5 separate regions of the Homo sapiens genome follow, and all the other regions are linked to region 1. The links are contacts of gene promoters, found by promoter capture Hi-C in blood cells and fetal thymus (Javierre and others, 2016). All regions are on one chromosome and are shown on one strand. Each heading gives the region's core, a stretch centred on a gene start or on the middle of the fragment in contact. The rest is flanking DNA. Distances are from core to core; before and after follow the strand shown. Region 1 holds the start of KANSL1L (KAT8 regulatory NSL complex subunit 1 like). Region 2 holds the start of KLF7 (KLF transcription factor 7). Region 3 holds the start of MDH1B (malate dehydrogenase 1B). Region 4 overlaps SNHG31 (small nucleolar RNA host gene 31). Region 5 overlaps INO80D (INO80 complex subunit D).

Region 1 (2,700 bases), core at 67-2,566:
AGGACAGTCCTTTGAATATGGTAAATATCCAATAAATACTTACTGATTTAATTATTTTTCACAACACATCATTAGCTTACAATTTTTATTACAATGAAAGTAAATCAATTTCCTAAAATTCTTCCCTTGCCCCATATCGAGGTGCAATTATTCAGTAATTAAAAAAATATAGCTCCAATAAATGCAGCTGGTCATAAAAATTATTTCAGTAATATCACAATCTACTAGAAGAACCAGGAACGAGTAGCTAATTTTCCAATTCCAGTTATCTATGTTACGGATTACGCTTTGTTATGACTGCAATTCCTTGGATTTCTCCCCTCTTCCGCCCCCGGGATCTTATCCAATTGATAAGGTTAAAATAATGGCTATTATCCTTCTGGCTTAAAAAGCCTAGTGCTCTTCGTTCCTTAAATCATTTCATGTGTAAATTCGGTGCTTAGGAAAGACTGTGATACAACATCTAAGAAGCTACATTTAGAGTTCAGTTTTAAAAAAATCGAGTTCTTGGCTGGGGAAGTGCCCAGGTGCAGGTTTGTTTTGTGGTGAGCGGTTCGCGGGGCCAGGTGCAAGACGCTCAGAAGTGTTTTTGGGTGTCGCTGGCCAACTATCTCCACATAAACTCCGTTTGTTTATTTGACAGCGTTACTGCAGAGGGGAGTTAGGTCCAGCGCCACTCAAACCAGATTTGTAGAGACTTAAAACTGCTTTGTCTGTTTTTTTTTTTTTAATCATAAAACCACCCAGTTGGATCCAAGGCAAATTTGTCACCTACTTCAGGGCCCCTCTGAGGGTCAGAAAGAATTATGAGCGCATTTGAACGCACGGCCCAAATAAAAGCAAACGCACGGAGACTTGCGGACTTGACAATTGTGAGAAATCTCTTAAAACTCGCCTGTGGAGCGGCGGGCGAAAGCCGCGGACGCCAGCAGTAGTCGAGGCCCCGGCGCGGACGGCAGGGAATGAAGTCGCCTGACTTTTCCTCAGGGTTTTGTTTTTCTGTCACGGAGGTACAAAAATAGCAAAGCAGGGGTGGGAAGTCTCCTGGCCGTGTTTTTTTTTTTCCCCCTCGCCAGGGATGGCACTGGGAAAGAGAAGGGAGGAAGCAGGAGCTGCACGGAACCCGTCCCGAGGGAGCCGAGGTAAACCCTGCACCAGAGTTAAGGGAGTCGTGCTCCTGCCACTTCCAGAACACTCCGAGCCGCTTCTGCAGGCCCCGCCCCCTGCCGGGGTTTCCCCGCCACCCGCTTCATTTGCATGGCGCTGCCCCTCCCCCGTTGCCATTGGCTAGCGCCGGGCCCCGCCCACTGCTCCCAGACCGCGGCAGGGTTCCGTCCCCCCGAGCCGCACGGAGCTGCGGGCAGCGGGCGGACTGTTAAACCGCGGCGGCGGCGGCGGCGGCGGCGGCGGCGGCGGCGGCGGCGGCGGCCGGGGCGGGAGCGGGGCGCGCTCTGGAGACGAGTCAGCGGCGCCCCGGGTGGGGGAGGCGGGCGGGCAGCTAGAGATCACCTCAGCAGCCCCCACCACGGCCGGACCGAAGGTGCGGCGGCGGAGGGGAGCCAGGGCGCCCCAGCAGGCGAGTGGCCGGCGTCTCAGCGGCGGGATGACGGGGGTGGGTCTTCCCTCTTGGGGACGGCGGCAGCGCGGGGAGGGGAGAAGACTGCCGGGTGGACTTGCGGGTCAGGCGACCGACCGGCAGCCCCTTCGCCCCCCGAATCCTCTGGGCTGCTGGACTCTGGTCTCGGCACGGGATCGCGCTCTAGGGCGGGGGTCTGACCGCAGCCAAATTTAAACGGCTAAACCTAACAGCCTTGGCAGCTGGGGAGGGAAGGGGTCTAGGGAGGGGTGGGGGCGGACCTGGACGCCGGTCACGTGGGGGGTGGGGCTTGGCAGACCTCCCTTTTGTTTTGGCTGGCGCGTGCGCAGAAGGCAGAACACGTGGTTTCCTGGACCCGCCTCTTGCCTCATCGGCTGAGCCTCACCCATTGGGGGTGTGGTGACGGCTCTTTTGAGGCGGCTCTGAGGCGGAGCCCACTGGATTTGATGAGACCCCTATTTTATTTATTTCACACTTTCTTTCAGGAAAACGTAGATTTGGGCTTTAGAGTTAGATGGGATAGAGCAGAATCTAGGGGATTTTTGAGGGACGGTGCTTCCAAGTTTGTGTCACCGGTGTGCTGAGGAAGGGACCGGTCTTGCTGGAAAAAGTCAGATTGCGTGGTGTTTGGTAGCAAGAAATACCAGGCGGTATCCTGGCCGTTTCAGAAACCACAGGAAAGGAAAGAGGCTGGCTTTGCAGTCGGGAGGGCAGGCACTGGATGGACGTTCTTGTAATGTTTTCTTACTCTGGGAGAGTCCGTTTTTGTTTGTTTTTTTGTTTGAACTGTGGTAAGCACATTCCGTTTTTGATTCCCCAAACTTCAGGACATTCATGTTCTGGCGAGGTTTAGGAGACAAACTTCCTTCGTCTTTAGCCAGTTTGCTTAACTTCATCTGAGTTTGGGTCAGTAATAATTTTAAATATTGCTGGATGGGGCAGGTTTGTTAGCCACAAAACCTAAGTGAAGTGAGCACTGCAGACAAAACTGGCAATTTCTGACTAGGAAAAAATGACTCTAAAAATAATTCAGTATTGAGAAAGAGGCTTAACAGTGAGTGGTCTCTGCCTTTCCCGTTCTTAATAACTAGCCATTTCTTTGG
Region 2 (2,700 bases), core at 63-2,562, 3.0 Mb after region 1:
GGGTTTTCATCTCAGATGTAACAGATCTCTCTATGTCTACATCCCAACTCCAGAAAACGAGAAATCGAGTTCCTCCTCTCACCATCGAAGCTCTGCAGACACCTCGCTGGAGACCCCATGGTGAGCCTCATCACGTAAAGGCCCCCTCGCAAGCTGCCGGCTCCAGCTTGCGCCCCACGTCTACCTAGGCTCCCTCTAGCCTCTTTAACGCACAGTCGAGCAACAGGCCCCTTGCAATCAACTCTAGCCGCCGGACTCCCGACCAGGTCTCTCGCTCGGGGTCAGAAGGAGGCGCGGGAGGGAGGGCGGCGGCGGCGGCGCCCGCGGGGCGGGGCGGGGACTGTGCGCAAGCGGGGGGCGGGCGCAGGCCGCGGTCTCGCTCCGCTCCCCTTTGTTCTCTCCCATTGTGTGGCACTTCCTCCTCAGGCGCTTCTTCTCTGCACCCTGGCAGCCCGTGGGGAGTTCGGGAAGGGGCCCTGGATGCCTTTTCTGCTTGTTTTTGAGTACGTGAGGACCTCCCCGGCACCGCCTCGCGCGGGTCCCTGCCCCGTGCCCAGGCGGAGGCGGGGTGGCCACTGTCCTTCCTTCCCGCTCCGCGCCCTCGGCGGCTTCCCCGCGGCCCCCTGCGCCGCGCCCCCTCCAGGAGGCGTCCTGACCCCGCACTCCGGCCTTTCACCTCCCGACCGTCAGCCTCAGGGCCGCCGCGGCGACGCGCGACCCCTTCCCTCTGAGGGGCGCGGGCTCCGGACGCGCCGGGCTCTGCCAGGCATCTAGTGGAGGGTCGGAGGTCGGCGACCAGCCCGAGCCCAGCCGTCCCGGGAGCTGGCGCGAGTGTCGCCACGACCCTCCCTGTCCCTTGCGCTCGCGCTGCCCGGCCGCCGGGCGGCCGCCTCAGCCCCCTTATATAGCCCTCTAAAAATAGCTCGCCTCGCACCGCCTTGTAAGGCAGCAGGGAGATCCGCAGCGTGCCAATCCGCGCCCGCCGCCAGGGCCAAGCCCCGCCCCAGGCTCTGCTCCGGGCTCCCCATTGGTCCTCAGTGACTTCATGAGCCCCCTGTTTACCTTACATGGTCACACGCGGCCTAATGGACGCCCTCCTCGAGATCCCACGGCTGCGCGGAGAACCGAACGGAGGGAGGGAGTTTGGGGAGGGGGAAGAGCAGGAGGAGGAGAAAAGGGAGGGGGAAGACTACAAACTAGCAAGGATGGGGTGGGGGGTGGGGAGGGAAGGGAAGGGGGGGGAAGAGAAGCGATCGCGAGAGAAAAAAATGCAACCTCCCAAAATAAAGAGCAAAGATTGCATTAGGAGCGAACAGCGCTGCAGAAATAGATGGCAGCTTCGTGTCAGTGAGTTTGCATCCCCCTTCCTGATCCACGAGCTGGAGTGATTAGAGCCCTGGAAGGGAATTGTTACTCCCGTGGAGAAGTCCCCTTTTCCTGGCAGTCGTCTGCACTGTACACGCTGGATGCCTCTCTCCATCCACCCCACTCACTCGCTCCTCTCTCACCTCCTCTCTCCCTCTCCTGCATTGATTTTTTTTTTTCCTTTTTAGTTGACTGAAACAAAACAAAACAAAAGGGCCACTGGATGTCTGCCTTCTTGGGGGGTGAGCCAGACAGACTGACAAACAAACAGCCCCAACTGTGTTCGGGGGAGGGTTTCGCCTCCCGTTTTGCCCGGCAGCAGCAGCATGGACGTGTTGGCTAGTTATAGTATATTCCAGGAGCTACAACTTGTCCACGACACCGGCTACTTCTCAGCTTTACCATCCCTGGAGGAGACCTGGCAGCAGGTGAATGATTTAAATTACTTGTGTAAATCGTGTGGTGGCGGCGGAGACGCAGGGGCTGCGTTGGTGTGGGCTCTGGGTTGAAATTTTTGTTTGTTTGTTTGACTTTTTTTTCTTCCTTTTTGGCTGTCTGTTGTTGAAAATGTTTTCTGAAACAGTCATCTGCGCTTACCTCTCCACCCACCCCTAACCTCGTAGAGTGCCGAGCTGAGCAGCCGGTGCGAGCTGCCTGCGTTTCAGTCGCCAACACACATCCCTGCGCACACGTTGTCGGGTTTGCTGTCCCCTATCAGAGACCTGCCGAACTTCTGGGGTTCGGAGGAGCCGGGTGGGAAGGTGGTTTGGGGTGTTAGGAGCGATTGCTGACAGGGACCACGTTCTCGCATGCATGAGCTCTACCCACTTGATACCTGAAATCAGGTTCATCTGTTTCAACTGGTGCTTATGACCATCGGATGGGGGGCGGGGGAGGGTGGGCAGGAGCAAAGCGGAGTGTTTTTCAGTAATTAGCGAGTGTCAATAAAGAATAGGAGCTTGATTTTGAGATTAGAAGGTAGGCAAAAGAGAGAAGAGCCCACTGACAAAAGATACTCAAGGAGGACGGGAAGATGTAGCTGAGGCTGACAATGAATTGTAGGTTTTCCCAGTGTGATCCCTCCAGAAAGAGAACACCCTCTATGCGTGTCCTTGTTTCTCTTTTTTGTTTAGGGTCCTTCTCTAGTTAGGCAGCACAACCTCGGACAAAGGCTGATGTGTGCTTCCATGCCTTTGACTTTGTCTTAGAGGACTAGTTAAGAAACTCCCAGGATGCTGAAGGGCACCGATGCCAAGTTGGCTAGCCGTCCCAGGGAGGATGAAGTGGGGCTGGTGACAAGTTCACTGGGCTTTGTGAAGTGGAATAAAGAAAGTG
Region 3 (2,700 bases), core at 26-2,525, 3.4 Mb after region 1:
AAACTTTTACTTAAAGAAATGAAATGCATTTAACAGAAGAGAAAATGGGGAACCTATGGAGCCATTAAACATTTACATAAAACAGTAAAAGTTTTTTTTACCAATGTGGGCTCCCTCCAATCTACCACAATGTGTCCAGTTTCAAAGAAGCCAGGTCACTTTGGAAGTAGTCATTGTATTAATGAGATTTTTCTGGTGCAAAAGCGTTCCATAAAGCTTTCTCTGTAGGAGAGACTTTTGTTGGCATTGTTATGGAAATGTCCTCGGTGAAAATTAGGGGATTAGCATTGATAGATCATTTTCTTTTCTCTTCTCTGTTTTTTTTTTTTTTTTTTTTTTTTTTGAGACAAAGTCTTGCTATGTCCCCCAGGCTAGAGTGCAGTGGCGCGATCTTGGCTCACTGCAACCTCCACCTCCCAGGTTCAAGCAATTCTCCTGTCTCAGCCTCCCAAGTAGCTGGGATTACAGGCGTATGCCACCACGCCCGGCTAATTTTTGTATTTTTTGTAAAGACGGAGTTTCACCATGTTGGCCAGGCTGGTCCTGAACTCCTGACCTCAGGTAATCCACCCGCCTCGGCCTCCCAAGGCGTGAGTCACCGCGCCCGGCTGATAGATCATTTTCAACATGACGATTTAGCAACGGCCGAACCCAGACCATCAAGAATAGGGACCTGGGCAGGTAGAACGGCTCAGTGGAAGAAGCAGAAAACGAAAGCGATGTCTGCACGTGGCCTGCGCTTAAGAGGAAGATCTTATACAACCAGCCAGCCTCACCAGACCCCAGAACCAACTTCAAGAGCCTGTCCTTCCGCAGCTGGGCCGCCCAGCATTAACCCACCTCCTTTAAACTTACTTCCAGGACAACTCGTGAGACTCTTCTCCTCGAAGTAAAAAGTCTAGGATGTGATACGGGCTGCCGCTAAGCCCAAGCTCGTCCTCCACTCACCTTAGAGCACAAGACCGTGACTACGTACAGGAGCAGCCATGACAGCTTCCCCGAGAAGCTGCGCTTCTCACGAGATCTTACGGATTCCCTCAAAGGTCAAAAAGCATATGTTCGCGGCTGTAGCTGAAGGACTTACTTGAAGAAAGTTTACCAAGGAGAATGACTAATTTCCCTGCATACAGGAGTGGGGCTCGGGGATACCACAGAGCTTATAAGGGCGATGTTTGATCGTGTATCGCAACGTAACCCATTCAGGTCCTAACTTTAAACACCTAACCTCTGCTGGGCGCCAGACTTTGTAGTGCGCCTGCGCCTTGCCCTTGGCTGCGTGGTTGCCAGGAAACCGCGAAGCCGCGGTCCCTGCCTCTGAGTCTCTCTCGACCATGGCCAAATTCGTCATCGCGGGTGAGTGATCCCCGCGTCCGCCCGCAGATTGCTCAAAACGCCGACAACAGCTCACCTCCCATGGCCGCTCGGCTTGGCAGCCTCTATACGGACCGCTCCATGCTTTGCTATAGATTTATTCAAAGTTTTTTACTGGACCGTGACGGTGCGCCAAGCATTGTGGGACACTGGGGATGCAATGGAGGGAAACATATCCCTGCCTTAGAGGAGCTTTCAGTCTCATGGGGCACAGAACATGTACTTTTGATACGGTGTGATTAACGCGATGAAGGAGACCTGCACAGGCCTCTGGGAGCGTAGACTCCTAATCTGGGTTTGGGGGATGAGGGAGAGGTGGACACAAGGAACTGGCTGGGGAAGGTATTACAGGAGCTGAGTTGTGAAGGTGTGAGCTGAGGAGGCTATTCCAAATAAAAGCAGAGAGGCAGGAAGCTTCCTGGCCTAACAGAAGATCTGGATATGTGGGGCGTGACAGGACCTGGGGCTACAACAGGAGCAGGAGCCAGGTCCTTGCATTTCATGTAGGTCAAGCAAAGGTGTTTGAACTGTATCCTGAAAGCAATGAGGAATTATAGAAAAATTTTAAGCAGGAGAGTAGTCTTAATGAGTTTGCATTTTAGGAAGCCTGTCTTGGCAGCAACGGAGAGAATGATTGAAAGTGCTGGTTGACAGCAAGGACTCAACTGAGAAGGCTTTTATTACAACAATCCATGGTACCTACCTCCTCTCCTCGTAAAGTTTCTTAAAAGAGTAGACTGCTCTTCCATCTCCAGTTCTGCCTTCCAATCAGTCTTGGAAGAAGGCTTCTACTTCTGCTTCCTGACAGAAACTGCTGTCACCAAAGTCACCACTGACTTTTATAGAAGCTGTTTAGTCTTTGACTTATTTGATCTCTTTGATGCATTGAACACAATTGACATCTACCATCCACAGGAGATTTTTTTTTTTTTTTGAGACAGGCTCTCACTTTGTCACCCAGGCTGGATTGCAGTGGTGCAATCGTGGCTCACAGCAGCTTTGACCTCCTGGGCTCAAGCGATCCTCCCACCTCAGCCTCCCAAGTAGCTGGGACTACAGGCATACACCAGCATGCCCAGCTAATTTTTGTATTTTTGTAGAGATGGGGTTTTGTCATGTTGCCCACGCTGGTCTTGAACTCCTACGCTCAAGTGATTTGCCCACCTTGACCTCCCAAAGTGCCAAGATTACAGGCATGCACCACCACACCTGGCCCAGAAGAATATTTTTGAACACTGACTAACCACATGGTGGGAAGTCAGTGGAAAACACACAGAGAATGTTGCATGTATGACACTGACAGGGCAGGGTTCTATAGGAACGATAGCA
Region 4 (2,700 bases), core at 160-2,659, 4.6 Mb before region 1:
TTTTTTATTCCCATATTTATTGAACACAAATTGTATATGAGGCATATTTAAATATATTGGTTACTTCTCACTTGTGCTTTGAATGAAATTTAAATTATTGCATGAATTTTGATTAAACTGATTACAGAATTTTGAAACACAATGGAACCCAAACTAGGGCCAATGCTCATTTCCTAAATGAACATTTTATGTGCAAACAAACAGCTGCTAGAATCCAACAGAATTTAAAACAAGCTGTTTGTAAATTTTACTGACAGCTGTTTTTGGTGATTTTTGTCAACAGAATTTTCCTGCTTTGCATCACAGCATCCTTTTATTATAGTATCCCCTCAAAGTATAACTTGCTTGCTTTAATCACGTTTACAGAGATTTATGACTTGATGCTTATTCAGTGGTAGAGCTTCTCAACACAAAATGTCAGTGAGCCTGTTATAAATTGCTTCTGGCATTCCTACTCTATCTTTTATTTGGCTGGGAGTATTTCCACCTGAAAGTGATAAATTCCTGTTATAACCACTTTATGTGCTTCAGTAATTACACTGTACAGAAAAAGAGGATTTCTACTGAGGTGTCTCCTTAAAAATAGCAAGCAATAAAAGGCAGTGGAATGGGCTGAACTCTGAAGTCTATTGAACAAAAAACAATGACCAGTGAAATATGTGTGTCAGACTGAATTTGATAAATGATCAGGAAGTACAGAAGATACCAAAACCTTTAAAACAACTACTGTGGGGTCATAGTAATGTAACTATGTCCTTAGACTAGTTACTTTTAAGCCTGTGACAGAAATTTGGCAGGTGCCCACAAGAATGGAGTTAACATCCTTTCAAAAACAATCTTAAAATATCTAGATGCTTCTAGAGACTTGGGTAATTCTAAACTAAATGCCAAGGTGTACATGACATAGGGACTGAGTTGGTATGTACTAGTCAAAGAGACTGTGGCATGCTAAAACGGTTCAGTACAGTACACTGCAGCCAATAACTTGATCAATACATATACACACAATTGAACTGATTGAAATACACATTAATCATGATATTCATGGGTGGTTTGTTTGCTTCATATATGCTGTCTCTAGTACGTAGGACAAAATTACTGTTTTTAATTGCTTAGGCTTTTTTTTGTTCTTAAATGAGCAACAAAATGATGTAAATAAAAGATGTTTAAGTTAATGAAACAAAATTATAAACATTTTCATTGTCACGTCCTAATATTATGCCAACGATGGTGTTAGGAATCAGGTGGATACTTTATCTGAGATGATACTAAAAGAGACTATAATCAGTAAATAGGATTTAAGCTTCCTTTCCAGGTGATTGCATTATATTTGCATAGGAATTGCTACTGCAAGTATCTCTGTTCCAATAGCCACAGAATAAGTGGTTCTTTGCTTAGAATATGTACTCTTTCATAGGAGAAATCATAAGCCAGTGTAGCTGGCTTCATGCAACTCAACAATGCCAGTCCTAACAATGGAAAAATATGTTGTGCACTTATTGTGTTTTAAGCTTTAATATATATATTAAAGTTTAGGACAGTCCATTGCAAAGGGATGTCCATTGGTTGTGCTGCACTTCTGGTTTAGGACAGTTTCATAAACTGTAATTCCTTTCTCACCACAACCCTTTGAGTATGAGATTGACATATATTAACCCTAAATTTACAAAAGATGAAACTAAGTTCCAAGATGGGTTACACAATGGACAAAATTGTAGGAAATGTCAAGGCTAGGTTTATAATTCAGTTCTGCTTGACTCCAGATCACCGTGTACTTAATCATTACGCCACATTGAATTTCAGAAAAAAAAACAGCACAAAGCATATGACTTTACCTTAATAGCATCATATAAAGGCAAGCTCAGTCAAATGTGCACAGCACACACCACAGTCCTAGATGCTGGGATGGTCTGCTCTATTCCATCAATTACCATATTCAATTGCTCCTTATCAAATGTTTCAAACTACATTTTTTTGTGGGGGGACTACACTTCATAGAGGGGTGCTTGCAAACAAAATTTGTATCTGACAAAAAGAATGCTCTCAGGAAGTCGAAGTGGCCTTTTCCAGTGCATAATACCATAATTAAAAATCAGAGAAGAATTAATATAAAGGTAAGAATTTGTGAGATATCTTTACACTCCTTGGGAGTAGAGTCTGGGTATTATGGATATCCCATTTTGCTTGTTATATATGTTTATCCAAGTGAATATGAGGAAGATTTACCTCTTTGTAAAACACTTCATAACACAACAGAAGAGAAAACAGCATTTTGACTGTTTTCAACAAACCATTATATAAGCCTGAAGATCAGAAAAGAATTCAAGGCTGGAGATGCCTTCATAGCATGGTAACACTACAGAGGGTAACTGAAGCAGTCGGGGGGATGAGGGTTTAAGTGGGCCTGGAGAGAGGAGGATAGGTAAATAAGGCTGAAGCAAGCTTATCTGCATGCCTCAGAATCCACCCAGGACTACAGTGTTACAGTGGGGGAGGGATGGATGATTTTGAGTCTAGGATACTTGGGAATACTGCTTACTAGGAAGAGAACAGACTAGGAGTGAAATGGAGCAACAAGTCTAAACTTTTATGTACACAGGAGGTCCTTGCAGGGAAAACTCTGAAAAAGAAATGATACCATTTAGCCCTTTTTAAAGTGAGAAGAAGAGGACATTGTTCATGTCCTAAACCATGGCTTTA
Region 5 (2,700 bases), core at 137-2,636, 4.1 Mb after region 1:
TCAAACTCTGTTTCTCCACAATGATAGATATCCGGTCATTTAGCATTGAGCTTAAGAAAATCTTGATATTTGAGATTGTATGGATCTGATACAAAAATGCAAATTACATTTAATGGTTGTTTTAAGTTTATTGATTAATTGAAATTGTTTATTGACATGGACATTTTTTTAAACATGTGTACCAAAAATCGTTACTTCTATTATAGTTTGTCCTTATTTTTAGAGCATATACTGGATGGAAAAAAATCATTCTTAGTCATTTTTCTTGGAACATTTTAAGGTTTGAAAAAAATTGTTATTGCCTTATAATTTGATATTTTAAAGGTATATTGTTGACTTCACATTCCTAAGCTTTCCAAAACTATGTGTACAAATACCAAAAAAGTTTTGTACTTTTTCCCACCCTACCTCAAACATGTATTAATTTCCTAACCTGATCGCCTAATGGGCTACTTTATTTCCTGAAGGAATGACAGGTTTGATGTTTTTAAAAGTTACATTCCATTTGAAATTAATAAAAGATTTTCAGGGCAAATACTGAATTAACTTTAAACTACTAAGGGAATATGCTTTTTTATTATTAAGTGTTAGTTTAAAAAGTAAATGGTTAGTATAATTACAAGTCTGAAATAATCAAGTTTTCTTTCCTCTGGAAGATTTTTAGGAGGAAATTTGTATATCCCATTCCAACTTTTTCTCAGCAAATCATGTTGCTACTATTTTTAGAGAAATAAAAATTTTAGTTTAGAAGGAATTAAACATTTCTGAGAGCACCCAAAATTAATGACATTTCAAAAAAATGCTAAACTATTTATTCATACCTGAGATGTTCTCTGAGGGTTAGCAGCTCTCACTATCCAGGTTTGGTACAATGGTTATGGCTAATGAAAAGTCATTTATATTTGAATACAGTTAGAGCAATATTCTCAGACACTTTTCTTTCCCCCTCCCCCACACCTGGTAACTGGTAAAACAATGGTTGAATAGGTGAGACTGGGTTGGAGGCAGCAAATTGTCCCCAGTGCTAAGTCAGTTTAACTTACACATGCAGCTCTGTGCTAGGCAAAACAAACAGCAATAGAGTCTCCTCACTTCTTCAAGCAAGAGTTTGTCCCAGAAGTCCTGACTGTAAAGGCTGATTTTTGACAATGCTCCTGGCTAGTTTGAGATACTGAGGAAATACTCAATTTAAAACCTTAAGCCTCCCTCTTTTCCCTCCTTGCACGTAAGGTGACAGACTACTTGGTTCTCATCCTTTCACAGAATGTGATTTGTTTTTAAGATGAGTTTTTAGGCCGGGCGTGGTGGCTCACGCCTGTAATCCCAGCACTTTGGGAGGCTGAGGCGGGCGGATCACCTGAGGTCCGGAGTTCGAGACCAGCCTGACCAACATGGAGAAACCCCGTCGCTACTAAAAATACAAAATTAGCCAGGCGTGGTGGTGTATGCCTGTAATCCCAGCTACTCTGGAGGCTGAGGCAGGAGAATCACTTGAACCTGGGAGGCGGAGGTTGCAGTGAGCCAGGATTGCACCATTGCATTCCAGCCTGGGCAACCAGAGCAAAACTCTATCTCAAAAAAAATAAAAGATGAGTTTTTGGTGAAATTTTATTTGTAGCATGACTTCCTGCAGTGACACCTTTAGACTGGGCTTTGAGTTCTGATCCCAGTCCTTCCGCTGGGCAAGTTATTTAGTCTTTGGTTTCTTTAACTTAAAATGGGAATAAAATTCTTTGATATAAGGGTTAGATGAGATAGCCATGTGTTTGGCCCATAATAGTATTAATTAAATGTTAATTCCACTAGCCCACTTTACTTTTCTTTCTTTCTTTCTTTCTTTCTTTTTTTTTTTTTTTGAGACAGGGTCTCACTCTGTTGTCGAGCCTGGAGTACAGTGGCATGATTACAGCTCACTGCAGCCTCAACCTCCTGGGCTCCAGTGATCCTCCCACCTCAGGTGTGCCTGTAGTCAGCCAGGACTACAGGTGCTTGCCACCATGCCTGGCTAATTTTTGTATTTTTTGTAGAGACAGGGTTTCCCCATGTTGCCCAGGCTGGTCTCAAACTCCTGGATGCAAGGGATCCGCCTGCCTCAGTCTTTCCAAGTGCTGGGATTATAGGTGTGAGCCACCAGGCCTGGCCTCCACCTTACTTTTCTAGTAGTAACATCTAAATACTATTTCTCTTGTTTCCTTTTTTAAATAACTGAAAGTAATACTGTACTATACATACTATAGTAGGCTTATGCTATATTTGGAGAGTAGACCTGTTTTTCCCACTCAAAGGATAACCACTGTTTAACACTTTCGTGTGCTTTTTCTCTTTATGTGTATGCATACAGCAGAAACAAAGAGGAAAAACGTAAGGGTAGGATTGTCCATGTAATGGTAGTTGTGTCGTTTTGTATTGGTTAAAAGCTTGGGCTCTGGAGCAAATAGGCCTTGCATCCTGACTGTGTGACCTTGGATAATGACAATTACTTAATCTGATTAAGTCTCAGTTTTCTTCGTCTGTAAAAGGGGGTAATAATAGTACCTACTTCATAGGGTTGCTGTGAAGACTAAATGAGGAATTGAACATAAAGCCTTTAGAATGGTTCCTGAAGCATAACCTTTATATTTTCTTGGTGCATAACTTTTTCTGGTGCATAACTTTTCTATTTTTTTCTAAAGATTTTTAATATTCTTTTTTTTTTTTTTT

Evidence for each region. The method cuts DNA at HindIII sites, captures the fragments that hold promoters and counts their contacts. A CHiCAGO score of 5 or more calls a contact.
Region 2: the fragment with the promoter of KLF7 here is called in contact with the fragment with the promoter of KANSL1L in region 1 in 2 of 17 cell types (fetal thymus and monocytes); the score reaches 7.2 in fetal thymus.
Region 3: a contact is called between the fragment with the promoter of MDH1B here and the fragment with the promoter of KANSL1L in region 1, in 7 of 17 cell types (total CD8 T cells, naive B cells, total B cells and 4 more). The highest score is 10.6, in total CD8 T cells.
Region 4: a contact is called between a fragment that was not itself captured here and the fragment with the promoter of KANSL1L in region 1, in 1 of 17 cell types (total B cells). The highest score is 5.1, in total B cells.
Region 5: a fragment that was not itself captured here is called in contact with the fragment with the promoter of KANSL1L in region 1 in 1 of 17 cell types (neutrophils); the score reaches 7.8 in neutrophils.

The regions. Positions count from the first base shown.
Region 1 is chr2:210,170,025-210,172,724 of GRCh38, reverse strand. KANSL1L (KAT8 regulatory NSL complex subunit 1 like) reads left to right here and starts at 1,316. Exons shown (of 15, transcript NM_152519.4): 1 at 1,316-1,576. RefSeq lists enhancers at 387-1,020, 1,021-1,656, 2,050-2,229, 1,657-2,291 and silencers at 1,100-1,429, 1,550-1,859. The HindIII fragment of the contact is 7,802 bases long and covers 1-2,700 here.
Region 2 is chr2:207,164,560-207,167,259 of GRCh38, reverse strand. It overlaps KLF7 (KLF transcription factor 7), which reads left to right and starts at 1,312. Exons shown (of 4, transcript NM_003709.4): 1 at 1,312-1,793. The coding sequence starts at 1,692. MIR7845 (microRNA 7845) reads right to left here and starts at 860; the gene lies at 762-860. RefSeq lists enhancers at 1-176, 177-884, 885-1,593, 1,601-1,700, 2,302-2,700 and a silencer at 471-1,110. The HindIII fragment of the contact is 8,010 bases long and covers 1-2,700 here.
Region 3 is chr2:206,763,903-206,766,602 of GRCh38, reverse strand. MDH1B (malate dehydrogenase 1B) reads left to right here and starts at 1,275. Exons shown (of 12, transcript NM_001039845.3): 1 at 1,275-1,353. The coding sequence starts at 1,332. It overlaps FASTKD2 (FAST kinase domains 2), which reads right to left and starts at 997. Exons shown (of 12, transcript NM_001136193.2): 1 at 856-997. RefSeq lists enhancers at 727-1,106, 1,357-1,496. The HindIII fragment of the contact is 1,569 bases long and covers 219-1,787 here.
Region 4 is chr2:214,814,058-214,816,757 of GRCh38, reverse strand. The region is part of intron 1 of SNHG31 (small nucleolar RNA host gene 31); the gene reads right to left. Among named protein-coding and RNA genes, the nearest start is that of SNHG31, 5.2 kb to the right of the region's middle. The HindIII fragment of the contact is 208 bases long and covers 1,306-1,513 here.
Region 5 is chr2:206,080,913-206,083,612 of GRCh38, reverse strand. The region is part of intron 1 of INO80D (INO80 complex subunit D); the gene reads left to right. Among named protein-coding and RNA genes, the nearest start is that of INO80D-AS1, 2.4 kb to the left of the region's middle. RefSeq lists enhancers at 1-142, 839-1,628. The HindIII fragment of the contact is 2,066 bases long and covers 354-2,419 here.